2 separate regions of the Homo sapiens genome follow, and region 2 is linked to region 1. The links are contacts of gene promoters, found by promoter capture Hi-C in blood cells and fetal thymus (Javierre and others, 2016). All regions are on one chromosome and are shown on one strand. Each heading gives the region's core, a stretch centred on a gene start or on the middle of the fragment in contact. The rest is flanking DNA. Distances are from core to core; before and after follow the strand shown. Region 1 holds the start of GATD3 (glutamine amidotransferase class 1 domain containing 3). Region 2 holds the start of LINC02575 (long intergenic non-protein coding RNA 2575).

Region 1 (6,886 bases), core at 3,525-6,024:
TCGACTCTGGGTGCAGGCTGCCCAGGGTGGGGCAAGCGGCCAGCCAGCCTCCAACCTGCCCTTGAAACAGGAGCTGCCGACCGGGGCCGGCCGTGCTGGGGCTGCCACCCACACCATGGCACAGAAGCCACCTGCACGCTCCGATGCACTGTGGCCAGTGCTCCTGCAGGTGGCAGAGCTGTCCCTGGAGGGTCAGCCTGGCACCACCTCCACCTCTCAGGCAGGGCCATGGGGGCGGTGCCCAGAGAACCTCCATGAATGTGCAAAGAGAGAGAGGAGACACAGAGAACAGAAAGAGGATCTGGAACTCAAGGACGCCACCGTGTGGGAGCCAGCCAGGCCTCCATGATTCACGGTCCAGCTACCAAAACAGCCACGCCAAGGCGGCCTCCCTTCTTCCTGTCAGGACCGCCGCCCAAACTACCAAGAAGGAAACCCATTTCTGATCCTGCAAGGTTCCATAAGAGAATTGGGGCCAGGCGCGGTGGCTCAGGCCTGGAATCCCAGCACTTTGGGAGGCAGGAGGGTTACTCGAGCCCAGAAGTTCCAGACCAATTTGGGCTACATACATGGCCAAAAAAAAAAAAAAACAAAACCATGGGCATGGTGACATGCGCCTATAGTCTCGGCTACTCAGGAGGATGAGGCTGGAGGATGGCTTGAGCCCAGGAGATCATGGCTGCAGTGAACTAGGATCGTGCCACTGCATCCCTGCCTGGGCAACAGACCAAGACCTCATCTCTACAGAAAAAAAAAAAAAAAAAGAGAGAGAGAGAGAAAAAAAACTGGCACTTGCAAGGAGTAAATACTCAGAGACTGATTTCAACGTGACGAGACCTACAGCACAGTGATGAGATAAGAGGGAGCCCCAAACCCACTCTGACAAGCTGCTGGGTACCAGGAATGCTGAGAGAAGAGGCAGCAGAGAAGCAGAAACAAAAGCATGGCTCGCTACAACGCTACCTAAGACCCAACCCTAAGAACAGCTCCCAAGTCAGAGGGCAGGCACGTGCCCTGCCCAGACCCTAAACCCAGAGACTGCTCCTATCACCACCCCCTCCCATCGCCGCTCCACTGACCACATTGGACAGCAGACAGGTGCACCCCCTTCCCATCTGCTCCACATGGAAAGCGGAAGACCTTGGAGCTCAAATACGCACAGGTTTTTAGCCGCTCCAAAGCCTCCTGGAAAGATGGCAGCATCATGGTTGGCTGCACTGAGGTTGGCCAGGTCTGTGATTTTGCCACGGGCGATCCTCGCAGACTCGGTCAAAACATTCCTGGGAAAGAGCACAGGGCAAAAAGCCTCAGCATGCAGGTGAAGGACTGTGGAGCGCGGCAGGGGCACAGCCCACAGGCAACACGCTCCACACACGTGGCTCTCAGCCACACGGGGACTTACTTCCAGGTCAGCATGTTTGGTCACTACCTGGAAAGACAACATGGTTCTAGCAACGCTAAATCTATGCTGGGCTCTTCCGATCAGCACTTCAGAACCTGCGCCAAATCACTCTGAATCTTCTGCAGTCAAGGCCCATGGGAAATGGAAGTCTCTCCGAGTGTCTAAAGCAGACAGAATTCTGTGCACTCATCAGGACGGTGGGACTCAGAGGGGAAGGTAAGAAGCCAGGACTCAGGACCAGTGAAGCAACCCGAAGGCCAGCCACCGCAGGAAGCTGCTAGCCCCCAGGTGTGGGGGCCGAAGGTGCAAGTCCAGGTGCAGAAGCCAGGGTCCCAGGCAGGAAAAGAAATCACAGGGGTCCCCACTGGTGAGAAGCACAGCCCCAGGAGGCAGCTATGGCTTCTTCCTCGAATCTCCAGCTCCGACCTCTCGTGGTCCGAGGCCAGTTGGAAGGCACCTTGGAATGGCCTGCACAGGGCTGTCAGGCAGGACAGGCAAGGGAAGGGGATCTCAGGCCACACAGGCCAGAACCACACACACCGCAGTAACAGACATGCTGCTGGGAACCAGCAAAACAGATCTGGAGCCCAGACAGGGGAAGAAGGTGGGCGACCAAGCTGAGAACCACCACCTTTGCTTAAGACCAAGGTATGAGCAGCCTGACTCAGTGGGAAGCGATCCGGTCGCCATTTTCAGTCCTTCTGTGAGTACTGGAAGGAAGGCACTCCTGAGCCTTGGCAGCATTACTTCTGGAACAGCCCGAGCACAGCTGCTCAGAAGGACGTTCATTTGCACACAAGACTTGGTTTAAGCTAAGCCAGCAAAAAAAGGCTGCACCGTGGGAGGTAGACAAGAAGCAAGTTCCAATCCCACCCCCACACCTGCTCTCGCCTTCGGACGGCTGCCCCTTGGTGTGGTCAATCACGTGCATCTGAGGGACGTCAGGAGCAAAGATCTGGACTTCAGCCCCTCCACGGCTCAGGTGCACCAGGATCCTGCACGGGGGAAAACCAGAGACAACTCTTCAAAACGTGCCCCACTCAGATTTGTGTTAACACATTTTTAAAAACAGGATTTTAGCTAAGTACCAGGAGCAAATTCCTAATGTATATTAATATCTTACTTGCTCTGCAAAAAGTTACAGTTGGTTCCATACCAAGCCAAACGTCCCCCACACCCCCATTCCAATTCACTGTCGGTTGGTGGGTTACGACTATGACAAACCCTCAGAAGTGGGCTATGGAGATCAGCTGGTCCCAACAGCTCCCTTTGCAAACTGGGGTATGGGGGCCGGGTGACTCCACTGAGGGCACAGCCTGGAGGCGTGCGGGTCCCCGGCTGCTGAGTGCTCTACCTACACCCAGGGCCTGGCTGCCCTCCTCCAGTTGCTTGCTGCAAGCACCAAGAGTGAGAAGCAGCAGTGTGCTCAGAGTGCCACGTGCACAGACGGTGTGACGGGGCTTTCGGTCACTACTTAGTTCAATTTCTAGTCTCCCTCAACTTTCCCATCACAGATGGTGGGAGAGACACAAGAGACCCCAGGACAACACCACAGGCCAGGCAGCTCCATCTCCCCAAGGGCAAGGGCAACAGAAGCTCCTCCTGGGGACAACAGCTGACATTATGGGGGCTCACGCTGGCATCCGCAACTCCCAGTGCCAACAGGAGATAGGTGGCTAAGCCCACCCACACACTAAGCCCTCACTGCCCCTTACGTGGAGGAGGAAACCGAGGCATGAAGTGCAGTGACTTGCCAGAGGGAGAGGTCAGCACCTGGCCCTGGCACTTGGGTTCCGCTACCCATAAGAAATCCACCCAGACACCCCAGACACAAGACCCTGCCGTTCTGCCTGGGAGGGCTCAAGCTATTCTGGGGCTATTTTCTATCCCACCAAGGCCAAATCATGAAACACATCCTGGCCCTTTCCCCCAGCTCACTCTGCCTAGTGCCAACTCCAACCAGCCAAGGTGGGCCACCCACAAAGCCACCAGCCTCAGGCCACTCTCCATGGCCTGACACCCCTTTCGCCACCACCCAGCTCTCCCCTCTCCAGTTCACCCTGAACCACATGGGAACTACAGGTACCTGGCACGCGTGGTGGCCTCCTGCCCTACTGGTTCGGCCTGCAGTCATTTCCAGTAGCACAGGAAATCAGGCCACCAAGCACTCAGCAACAGCTGACCAGTTACGTAAACAGTAACCTGTCTAGGACCCAGAAATACCACGCAACTGTTAAAATGATGTTGAGAACTGAATGAATGGGAATTACTTCCCATGCGTCAGAAACATTTGCAAAACACGGGTGAGTGTGATCTCAGTGTTTTCAAAATGTGTGTGTCCTGAAAAACACTCAAGTGAAATGCTAAGTCATTTCTAGGCTCTAGGTGACAGCATAAGCGACACTTAAAAACTGTTCTTTCTTAGCGTCTCCCTGGGTTTTGCAAGTCGTTTTTGCTTTTTTTTAGCCAAGAATAGGGTATTTAAAATACAAGCTCTCTCGGCCGGGTGCAGTGGCTCATGCCTGTAATCCCAGCACTTTGGGAGGCCAAAGCGGGAGGATCACTTGAGGTCAGGAGTTTGAGACCAGCCTGGCCAACATGGTGAAACTCCGTATCTACCAAAAATACACAAATTAGTTGGGTGTGGTGGTGCATGCTTGTAGTCCCAGCTACTCGGAAGGCTGAGGCAGGAGAATCGCTTGAACCCAGGAGGCGGAGGCCGCAGTGAGCCAAGATCGCGCCATTGCACTCCAGACTGGGCGCTGTCTCAAAAGACAAAAAGTAAAAATAAAATAAAATACATGCTTTCTCTAAGCTGTTCAAAAAAGAGTAAACTTCACTGGTGGAGAGGCCTTCTCGAGGCCCCCGGGGTGGAGGACCAGCTGCCCCTGAGGACTTACGCCGAGGCCTCGTGGATCTCGGTCCCATCGTAGACTCCGCATCCAGACAGCACCTGCGAGAGGAGCGGGAGCTGACCCGGGGGAAAGGGGCCGACCTGGGCGGCGGGAGTTGACTGGGGGGAAAGGGGCCGACCTGGGCCGCGGGCGCTGACCCGGGAAAATGGGGCCGACCTGGGCCGCAGGAGCTGACTTGGGGTGAAGGAGCCGACGTGGGGCGGCGGGAGCGGACCTAGGAAGAGGGGCCGACCTTGGGCAGAGAACAGCGAAGGCTGATCTCTGGAGGCGGGAGCTGACCTCACCCCCTCCGTCCACTCACCAGCGCGACCCTGGCCGCGGGGCGCGGCACGGAGAGGTGAAGGGCTGCGCGCTGGGAAGGCGTCCGACCGCCGGGGGACAGGGACGTGAATGCAGATGCCGCAGCGAGCCTCGAGGCCACCAGGACCCTCACAGCCGCCATTGCGGTGAGGACAGCGGGGTCGGAAGGTCACGCAGGGACAGAGCGTGCGCACCCACCCCTCTACAAACGCGTTGCTCGTCGGGACTGCGCCTGCGCAGCCTTCTGGGCGGAGCCAAGACCCGCCCCCGTCTCAGCCCTATCCAGTGAGTTCGCCGGTGGGCGGGGGCCGCGCCTGCGCAGAGCCTCCGAATAGAGTTCCGGGAACCCTGTCTTCCTTCCGGTGGTGGCTGAGGGCTCGTGCTCGAGGCTGAGGGATGCTGGTGACTCCCGGGGTCCCCAGCCCCGCCCCCATCGGACGCCTCCACAGGCGGCGCACCCTTTCCGCCATCCGCAGAGCAAGGCTGCCTCGGGGCGGCTCAGTCCGGCGCTTCTTACCTTACCTCCGTCTCATCCTTAACTCACCACGAGCGTCCAGGGTCCACATCCTCCTAAATGGCCACTCGTCTTAATCTCGGCGTCAGGACCCACGCGGGGTCAGGACTACCCCTCCGCTTCCATGACTGTCTCCTCGCGGCTCCGGCTCCCACGGAGCGACCCCTCCGGGTTTTACTGACCCCGGGATGTTGTATCCTGGAAACTGCAGTTCCACCCAGGGGCTTGATCTGGGTTAGTCTGGGGGCAAGTGAGCCGCCGATTCTGTTTGGGTTTTTTTTTTTTTTTTTTTGAGACGGAGTTTCCCTCTTGTTGCCCGGGCTGGAGTGCAATGGCGCGAAGTCGGCTCAACGCAACCTCCGCCTCCCAGGTTCAAGCGACTCTTCTGCCTCAGCCTCCCAAGTAGCTGGGACTACAGGCATGCGCCACCACGCCAGGCTAATTTTGTATTTTTAGTAGAGACGGGGTTTCTCCATGTTGGTCTGGCTGGTCTTGAACTCCCGAGCTCAGGTGATCTGCCCGCCTCGGACTCCCAAAGTGCTGGGATTACAGGCGTGAGCCACCATTCCCGGGCGCTGTTTGGGTTTGTTTTTTTGTTTTTGTTTTTTACGTTCACAGCATGGACGGTCAGTGTGAAGATCCCAGCTGCTCGGGTCCTAGCTGGAATTCTTCCATTAAAAAAATCTGTTTGTTATGCATGGGTTAGTTCACAGAGGAATAGCTGGATAAGTGCTGGCTTTTTCCCCGATTTACCCATTTTCAACCTAATAATGCAGGTTTTTGAAATAATGTGAATGGTTACTGCTGGCGGATGTTCACAGGGACACACCGGATTCTACAGACACATCTGATGATCTAGCCACGGCTGTCACTTTCCCCACTGCCGCGTTGTCCATCACTAGGACTTTACTGCCAATCCTTGCAAGATAGTGGGGAACTAGAATAACAGACATGGGACATTACCAGTTACAACCAAAGACAAGCTTGGCACATTTGACTGTCCTCGTTCCTGCTCCTCCGTGCCTGGCCCTCTTCAGGCTTCTCAGCTCCTGGGGAGCGGCCAGCCAGGGAGCATCAGCTGGTGGGAGCGATGGGGTTGTGGGATGGCACAAAAAAACACCAAGCGCCACTCAGAAAGGAAATGCCGAATGCAGACTCTCACTCAGTCGGTGTGGGGGCCAGGACCCTGTCTCTACCAAGTGTGCGGGAGCTGCCCCTGGCCGGGAGCTCCCAGACCCCACTGCAGAGCCGCAGCTCCAGTTGTCCCAGGGGCGACTACTCAGGTGTCCATCGCCATGCACATGTGACACAGAAAAGGGTGAGGCGAGGAGGGGGAACGCTGGAAATTGTTTCACGGAAAAGGGCGAGGCAAGGGAGGGGAACACTGGAACTTGTGCTTTGGGTAGGCGATAGCTAAGGATTCTCTCTCGTCTGGGTCACGGAGATTGTGCAGCCACAGAACACCTGGTGTCATCAGGGCCTGAGCTCCTCCCTTCTACAAAGACCTCTGGTCTGCAGGCCTGCAGGTACAGTGCTGTGGGCCACAAGGCACTGCCTGTCGTATTCATCTCCACTCTCTAGCACATCTGGCCTCACGCCACCCCCGGGAGGCCGGCAGGCAGATATCAGCTCCACTTCCCAGATAAGCAAGGGAGCCAGGTACTACCCAGGGTCTTGGGGGCCACACCGCTGGCGAGGGACAGGCTGGGCCTGGCAGACAGCACTGGCAGTCGGTGAAGTGCCCACCTCAGTGTC
Region 2 (6,306 bases), core at 2,888-5,387, 350 kb before region 1:
AGGGACCACACCCTCTTCTACCCAGCACCTCCCTTCTGTATCATTTAAAGAGATGACACTCTTCCCTTCCCCGCACTCCTGTATCATTTCCCCTCTCTGAAAACGTACATCTAACTGCTATTAGAATATGGACGATGACCTGTCTTAGCTGCTTCCCGCTGACAGGGGGCGTTGTTTTTGAGAAAACGGCAGTCAAATTCCTCCCAGAGGTCTGTCTAAGGGTTCCTAGCAAAGGGGAGTCATTATCTGAGGCTCCAGTTGCCTGTCCACTTGGAGTTTGATGGTTCTAGGCATGAGAGAAAAAAAAAAACCCAGGTTTTATAAGGTTAAGTATGCATGGGTTAAACATGTGTGTTATAAAAAGAAAGAATGTACTCCCAAAGATCACAAAGATAAGAAGTGAAATATACTAACAGCAAAGTTGCACCCTGAGCTGTTTCACCCCTGGTGCAAGAAATTAAACCTTGTACAAGAGCAAATAAACTTTAGAATGAAGTAACTATTCTTGCCATATCTTTAGCAGTTAACAGGTGCACCCTGGGAATTCTGGGGTTTGTGGACGTACACGGTGGCCACTGAAGCTTTTGTCTCTTTCCTGTGTCTCCTCTCACTGTCCTGGGCCTCCGTCTCTATTATAAAAGACTGAGGTGGCCACTTTTAGGAGGTCCTCTAATGTACTATCTGGTCCAATGGCCCAGTTTTTGCAACTTCCTCCTGATGTCAGGAGCCGCCTGAGTAATAAAGTTATGCTTTGGGATTCACTGTCCCTCAACTGAACCAGGAGAGAGAGAGGTGAGCTTTACCAAGGCCTCTCTTAGCCTTTCCTAGAAGGCGATTGGATTTTCATCAAATTCCTGGTTGATCATGGACAACTTGTTCTTAGTCTTACGTAAGCCTTCTATTACGCACACCTGAAAGTGTCTCCTCCGCCCGGCTTCCATCTCATGATTGGGGTCCCATTTACGGTCATTCACTGGTACTGCTTCTCTTCCGGTTGGATAATATTCACCCCCTTTCCTGATGCTACATGTGATGCAAAGCTCATCCCCAAATCTCTCTGCAGCTTGTAGAGTGGCCTGTTTCTCAGTGTCTATCACAGTCTGATTCAAAAGTAACATAACGTCTCTCTCCAGGAGAGTTCAACTATTTGGTTGAAATTCTAGAAAGCCTCTATATACCTATGAGGATCATCTGAAAACTTGCCCAGATCCCCCCTTAATTTACTTTAAGTCCTGTAAGGAGAAGGGGACCTGGACCTTGCTGGCCCAAATTCACCAGGCATCTGTTGGAGGAGCAAGAGTGAGACTGGGGCTTGTTTAGAGTGAGAATTTGTAGGAGGGGCCAAGTGAGAGGCTGAAGCTGGATAGGGAGGTCGGGGTGGACCCAGAGGAGCAGGGCTTGAGGGAGCTGGCCTCTCTTTCCGGGGTGCCTCTAGGACTCGTATCTTTAATTCCCTGGGCTTACCCCTTGCAGCCTTCTCTGAGATGGCAAACAGGAGGGCTGGATGAATCCTACACTGTCGGCAAGGTCTGGATTTCCTTGCAAGGTATAGAAAGGCCCTGCACATACGGGGCCTCAGGCCATCTGTCCTCACATCTACAGAAAAGTCTCAACAGCCGAATGGTATGGAAATGAATGATTCCTTCCTAGGGCCAACCCAGTCCTTCATAATTTGGCCAAACCTTTGTGCAGAGGGCTCTGAGGTGTTTCTCCTGCAGATTCTGAGGGTCAAAGCAGTCCCGATGGTTCAGGGTACACTACAGAGGAGTATAAACTGGGGGTGTTGAAGAGAACTGGAGACAGTGAATAGAGAAGCCCCTCATTCTCTTCCTTCTTTCAGCGAAAACTCAGGGTGTGATGGAGAGAGAAAGCGAGCATGATCCTTTCAGTCTCCACTCCTTATCCCTGAGCCCTGGCGACCTTGGCAGGTGCCAGCCATGGGTACTAATGTGGTATGTACCCATGAAGCAGGGAAAACCTGGAGACTAGGAACGAACCGCCCTTGCCTATGCCTCCCTTTCTCCCTGCTGTCGGCAAACCTTCAGTTCCCTGGGCCTGTTTATGCCATGAAGCATGGCCTCCTTCCATAGGGTGGGGGGTTTAGTCAGCAGGAATTGGTGCTACCCATTTACATTGTGCCTGTTCCCTGGCTTTGGATCCCTCAGACCTGTTTTTTCTTTCTAAGACCTCAGCCTGAAGCTTGGAATCGAGTTTGGGACTGAAAAGATATTTTAGAGGCTGGTTCTATCTGTTGAGAGTGTCTCAAATGTGCCCTGCCAAATTTGCAGCTCTCCGCCAGCAGGGGTCGCTGGTCCTCTGCTAACTTCCCCATCAGAAACAGAGTTGGGAGGGGAGCCCTCTCACTTAGAAAAGGAAAAAAGATACAAAAATCAATTCAAGATGGATTAAAGACTTAAACGTTAGACCTAAAACCATAAAAACCCTAGAAGAAAACCTAGGCCCTACCATTCAGGACATAGGCATGGGCAAGGACTTCATGTCTAAAACACCAAAAGCAATGGCAACAAAAGCCAAAATTGACAAATGGGATCTAATTAAGCTAAAGAGCTTCTGCACAGCAAAAGAAACTACCATCAGAGGGAACAGGCAACCTACAAAATGGGAGAAAATTTTCACAACCTACTCATCTGACAAAGAGCTAATATCCAGAATCTACAATGAACTCAAACAAATGTACAAGAAAAAAACAACCCCATCAAAGAGTGGGCAAAGGACATGAACAGACACTTCTCAAAAGAAGATATTTATGCAGCCAAAAAAACACATGAAAAAATGCTCACCATCACCGACCATCAGAGAAATGCAAATCAAAACCGCAATGAGATACCATCTCACACCAGTTAGAATGGCAATCATTAAAAAGTCAGGAAACAACAGGTGCTGGAGAGGATGTGGAGAAATAGGAACACTTTTACACTGTTGGTGGGACTGTAAACTAGTTCAACCATTGTGGAAGTCAGTGTGGCGATTCCTCAGGGATCTAGAACTGGAAATACCATTTGACCCAGCCATCCCATTACTGGGTATATACCCAAAGGACTATAAATCATGCTGCTATAAAGACACATGCACACGTATGTTTATTGTGGCACTATTCACAATAGCAAAGACTTGGAACCAACCCAAATGTCCAACAATGATAGACTGGATTAAGAAAATGTGGCACATATACACCATGGAATACTATGCAGCCATAAAAAATGATGAGTTCATGTCCTTTGTAGGGACATGGATGAAATTGGAAATCATCATTCTCAGTAAACTATCGCAAGAACAAAAAACCAAACACCACATATTCTCACTCAGGTGGGAACTGAACAATGAGAACACATGGACACAGGAAGGGGAACATCACACTCTGGGGACTGTTGTGGGGTGGGGGGAGGGGGGGATAGCATTGGGAGATATACCTAATGCTAGATGATGAGTTAGTGGGTGCAGTGCACCAGCATGGCACATGTATACATATGTAACTAACCTGCACATTGTGCACATGTACCCTAAAACTTAAAGTATAATAATAATAAAAAAAAGGAAAAAGGAGAAAAACAGTTTAAGGGGCAAAAAGGGGGGAGATTCTGGGGGAAGAACCCCTTGCTTAGTGCAACTGCGTCCCTCTAATTCTTATAACTTTCCCATCCTTTCCCCAGTTCAGACCAGGTTGAATTCCTTGGCCAGGGGAGGAAAGGTTCCCTTGGCACACTTGACCAACGCGCTCCCTGTAGGGTCCCGGCTACCCCCTCGGCTTCCTCCCGCCCGGTTCGTGGCTGTTGGGCTTGGCCTTTGCCTGCCGTGGGCACGCCCAGGTGCCCGAGCTGGGAAGGGGAAGAATAAGGAGAGGTGCCCAGAGCCGTGTGTGCCTGCGGCTCTCGAGGTAGAGGCATACATGGCACCTCTAGGAAAAATTGGTCTGATTTGCACCTTTGGCGGCTGAGCCAAATACTCATTCTACTTAGTAACATTGCCGCAGCCTGTAGCAAAACTCTTAACATTATAAAGGAGATAAGAGCCATTTTTAAACCGTGTGAGAGAGAAAAAAGAGATGAAAGGAAAACAGCCTCTTACCCACAAGAAAGACAGGTGGTAGGGTTTTCGAAGGCAGACATTCACCTTCCGAGATTCCAGATGAGGCCCCAGTTAAAAGAGGAAAAGTTCCTTTGTCCCCCTCGCAGTGTGCGATGGGAGTGTGGCTCACTTCTTCAGTGCCCCGCAGCTCAAACCTCTAGGGGAGCATACACTCAGGCAGGCTCCCACCCCACGGCAGTGCCCAGGGGTGAATGTTTACAGCTGAAGCCTGTGTTCCAGGGTGCCCTTAGTTTTGGCGTCTGTAGGCAGCTTGTGTTAACCAGGTCAATGAGTACCTCAAGTAGAGGTACTTGTGGAAAGGACCGAGGCCTTTCTGTATCCTGGGTTCTTGCCTGGGTGTACCAGAAGAATCGGATCACACGGGGGCTTGGAGAACGAGTGCAAAGTGTTATTGAGTGGAAGCAGCTCTCAGCCGACGGAGGAGCCACAAGGGAGATGGTTTATCTCCTGGAGTTGAGCTGCTTAGTGGCCTAGCTCTCCTCCGACTGCCCCGGCCAAACTCCGCCTGGTCCTGCCGCTCGGTGGCCTGCCGGCGTCTGTGGTGTGCTCTTCCGCCGGCATGCTCCCTTGACGTCCTCTCCACGTCCAGCCGCTTGTTTTCTTCCACTGATGCGTTCCTCTCAGCATCCAGCAGTTTCTGCCTCTGCCCTGCTAGGGTCTCGGGTTTTTATAGGCTCAGAATGGGGGCATGGCGGGCCAGGGTGGTCTTGGAAAATGCAACATTGGGGCAAGAAGGCAGAAGTGCCTGTCCTCACCCAGGTCCGGGGGGGTGGAGCCCTAGCCGGGGACCACGCCCCCCTCTACCCAGCACCTCCCTTCTGTATCATTTAAAGGGACCACACTCTTCCCTTCCCCCGCACTCCCGTATCATTGCCGTGTGCCGCGCTCTCCGCTAGGTGGAGATGACAAAAATGAACCAGAGGCCCTGCCCTTAAGGATCTGTATTTGGGTAGAAAGTGATTTGTTAAGAGAGAGATTACAGATTTGGGATTGGTAAACTATGCCCTGGCTGACAAACAAAAGGGGTTCCCCATGGCTGAGGTGCTCAAATTTAAAACATAACCTGGTGCCCAGGGCTGGGTGAGGGAGTGGCCACGAACTCTGTGTTCTCAGACTCTGTAAACGCACCACAGGGCCCCCCTTTTCACAACGAAGCCCAATCAGTCCCCGTTGTTAGTGCCAAGATAAACTGTAGCCAGAGCGGCCCCCACCCTCCTCCCCGCCCGCACGCCCCCCACGCCCCGCACGCCCCGCACGCCCCGCACGCCCCTCACGCCCGCACGCCCCTCACGCCCCGCACGCCCCTCACGCCCCTCACGCCCCTCACGCCCCTCACGCCCGCACGCCCCTCACGCCCCTCACGCCCCGCACGCCCCTCACGCCCCCGACGCCCCGCACGCCCCTCACGCCCCCCACCACTGTTTGAAAGAAACAGCTAACAAAGACTTCCGGTTCGCGGCTTGGAAACCAACCCATCAGGGCCCAGCTGTACCAACCAATCAGAACTAAGCACGTTTCAATCCTTCATTTGCCTACATGGACCTAATGGGGACCCCAGGGCAGGAGCTTTTTGCTCTAAAACCCGAACTCCTTCTTTGCTCTTTGAACACACCTTCATTTTACACCAAAGTCCGCATCTCCCAGGCTTGTACACTATTCACTGGAATAGTCTGTTTCCTCCAAATTCCTTTTCAGAGACCTTTTTGTTAAGAGTTGAGAAGTAGGAGCAGTTATTTCTAGGAAATCTGTCTGCGGGCCGTAGACTGAGCTGAATGCCTGAAAAGGAAACAGTGGGGGGCAGTACTGGTAGAGGTAAATTTACTAGCGCTAGCAGAGGTAGATTTACTAGTACTAGTAGAGGTAGATTTACTAGCACTCACAGAGGTAGGTTTAACCACATCACAAGTGGTCTTGGATGATGGGCCAGGGATTTGTGACTTAATTAAGCACAGGAGTAATCAAAGCTTTTGAGCAGGGGGCACCAAAATCGTCTGGCTGTAAATAGATCCTGAAATTTGGAATCTCATTTTTGAGAATGAATTTGGAATGTGGGTGGATTCAAGGATGATCTGAGGACGTGTGAAAGGACACAGCCTTGCTGGCCACCCTCCCGATGACGTGTTTGCTGCTTCTCACTCTGACTTCAGTGAGCATGGAGAGCTTCACACACGCACATGGGAAACGGTAATTTTCCCTAAC

What was found. The method cuts DNA at HindIII sites, captures the fragments that hold promoters and counts their contacts. A CHiCAGO score of 5 or more calls a contact.
Region 2: a contact is called between a fragment that was not itself captured here and the fragment with the promoter of GATD3 in region 1, in 10 of 17 cell types (naive CD8 T cells, naive B cells, total CD8 T cells and 7 more). The highest score is 9.5, in naive CD8 T cells.

What each region holds. Positions count from the first base shown.
Region 1 is chr21:44,131,571-44,138,456 of GRCh38, reverse strand. GATD3 (glutamine amidotransferase class 1 domain containing 3) reads right to left here and starts at 4,774. Exons shown (of 7, transcript NM_004649.8): 1 at 4,619-4,774; 2 at 4,303-4,355; 3 at 2,284-2,397; 4 at 1,161-1,280. The coding sequence starts at 4,759. RefSeq lists a silencer at 249-398 and enhancers at 3,691-4,218, 4,219-4,746, 4,747-5,274. The HindIII fragment of the contact is 13,325 bases long and covers 1-6,116 here.
Region 2 is chr21:44,484,011-44,490,316 of GRCh38, reverse strand. LINC02575 (long intergenic non-protein coding RNA 2575) reads right to left here and starts at 4,746. Exons shown (of 2, transcript NR_155204.1): 1 at 4,087-4,746. LOC124905037 (a long non-coding RNA gene) reads right to left here. Exons shown (of 2, transcript XR_007067904.1): 2 at 5,618-5,883. The HindIII fragment of the contact is 3,872 bases long and covers 2,202-6,073 here.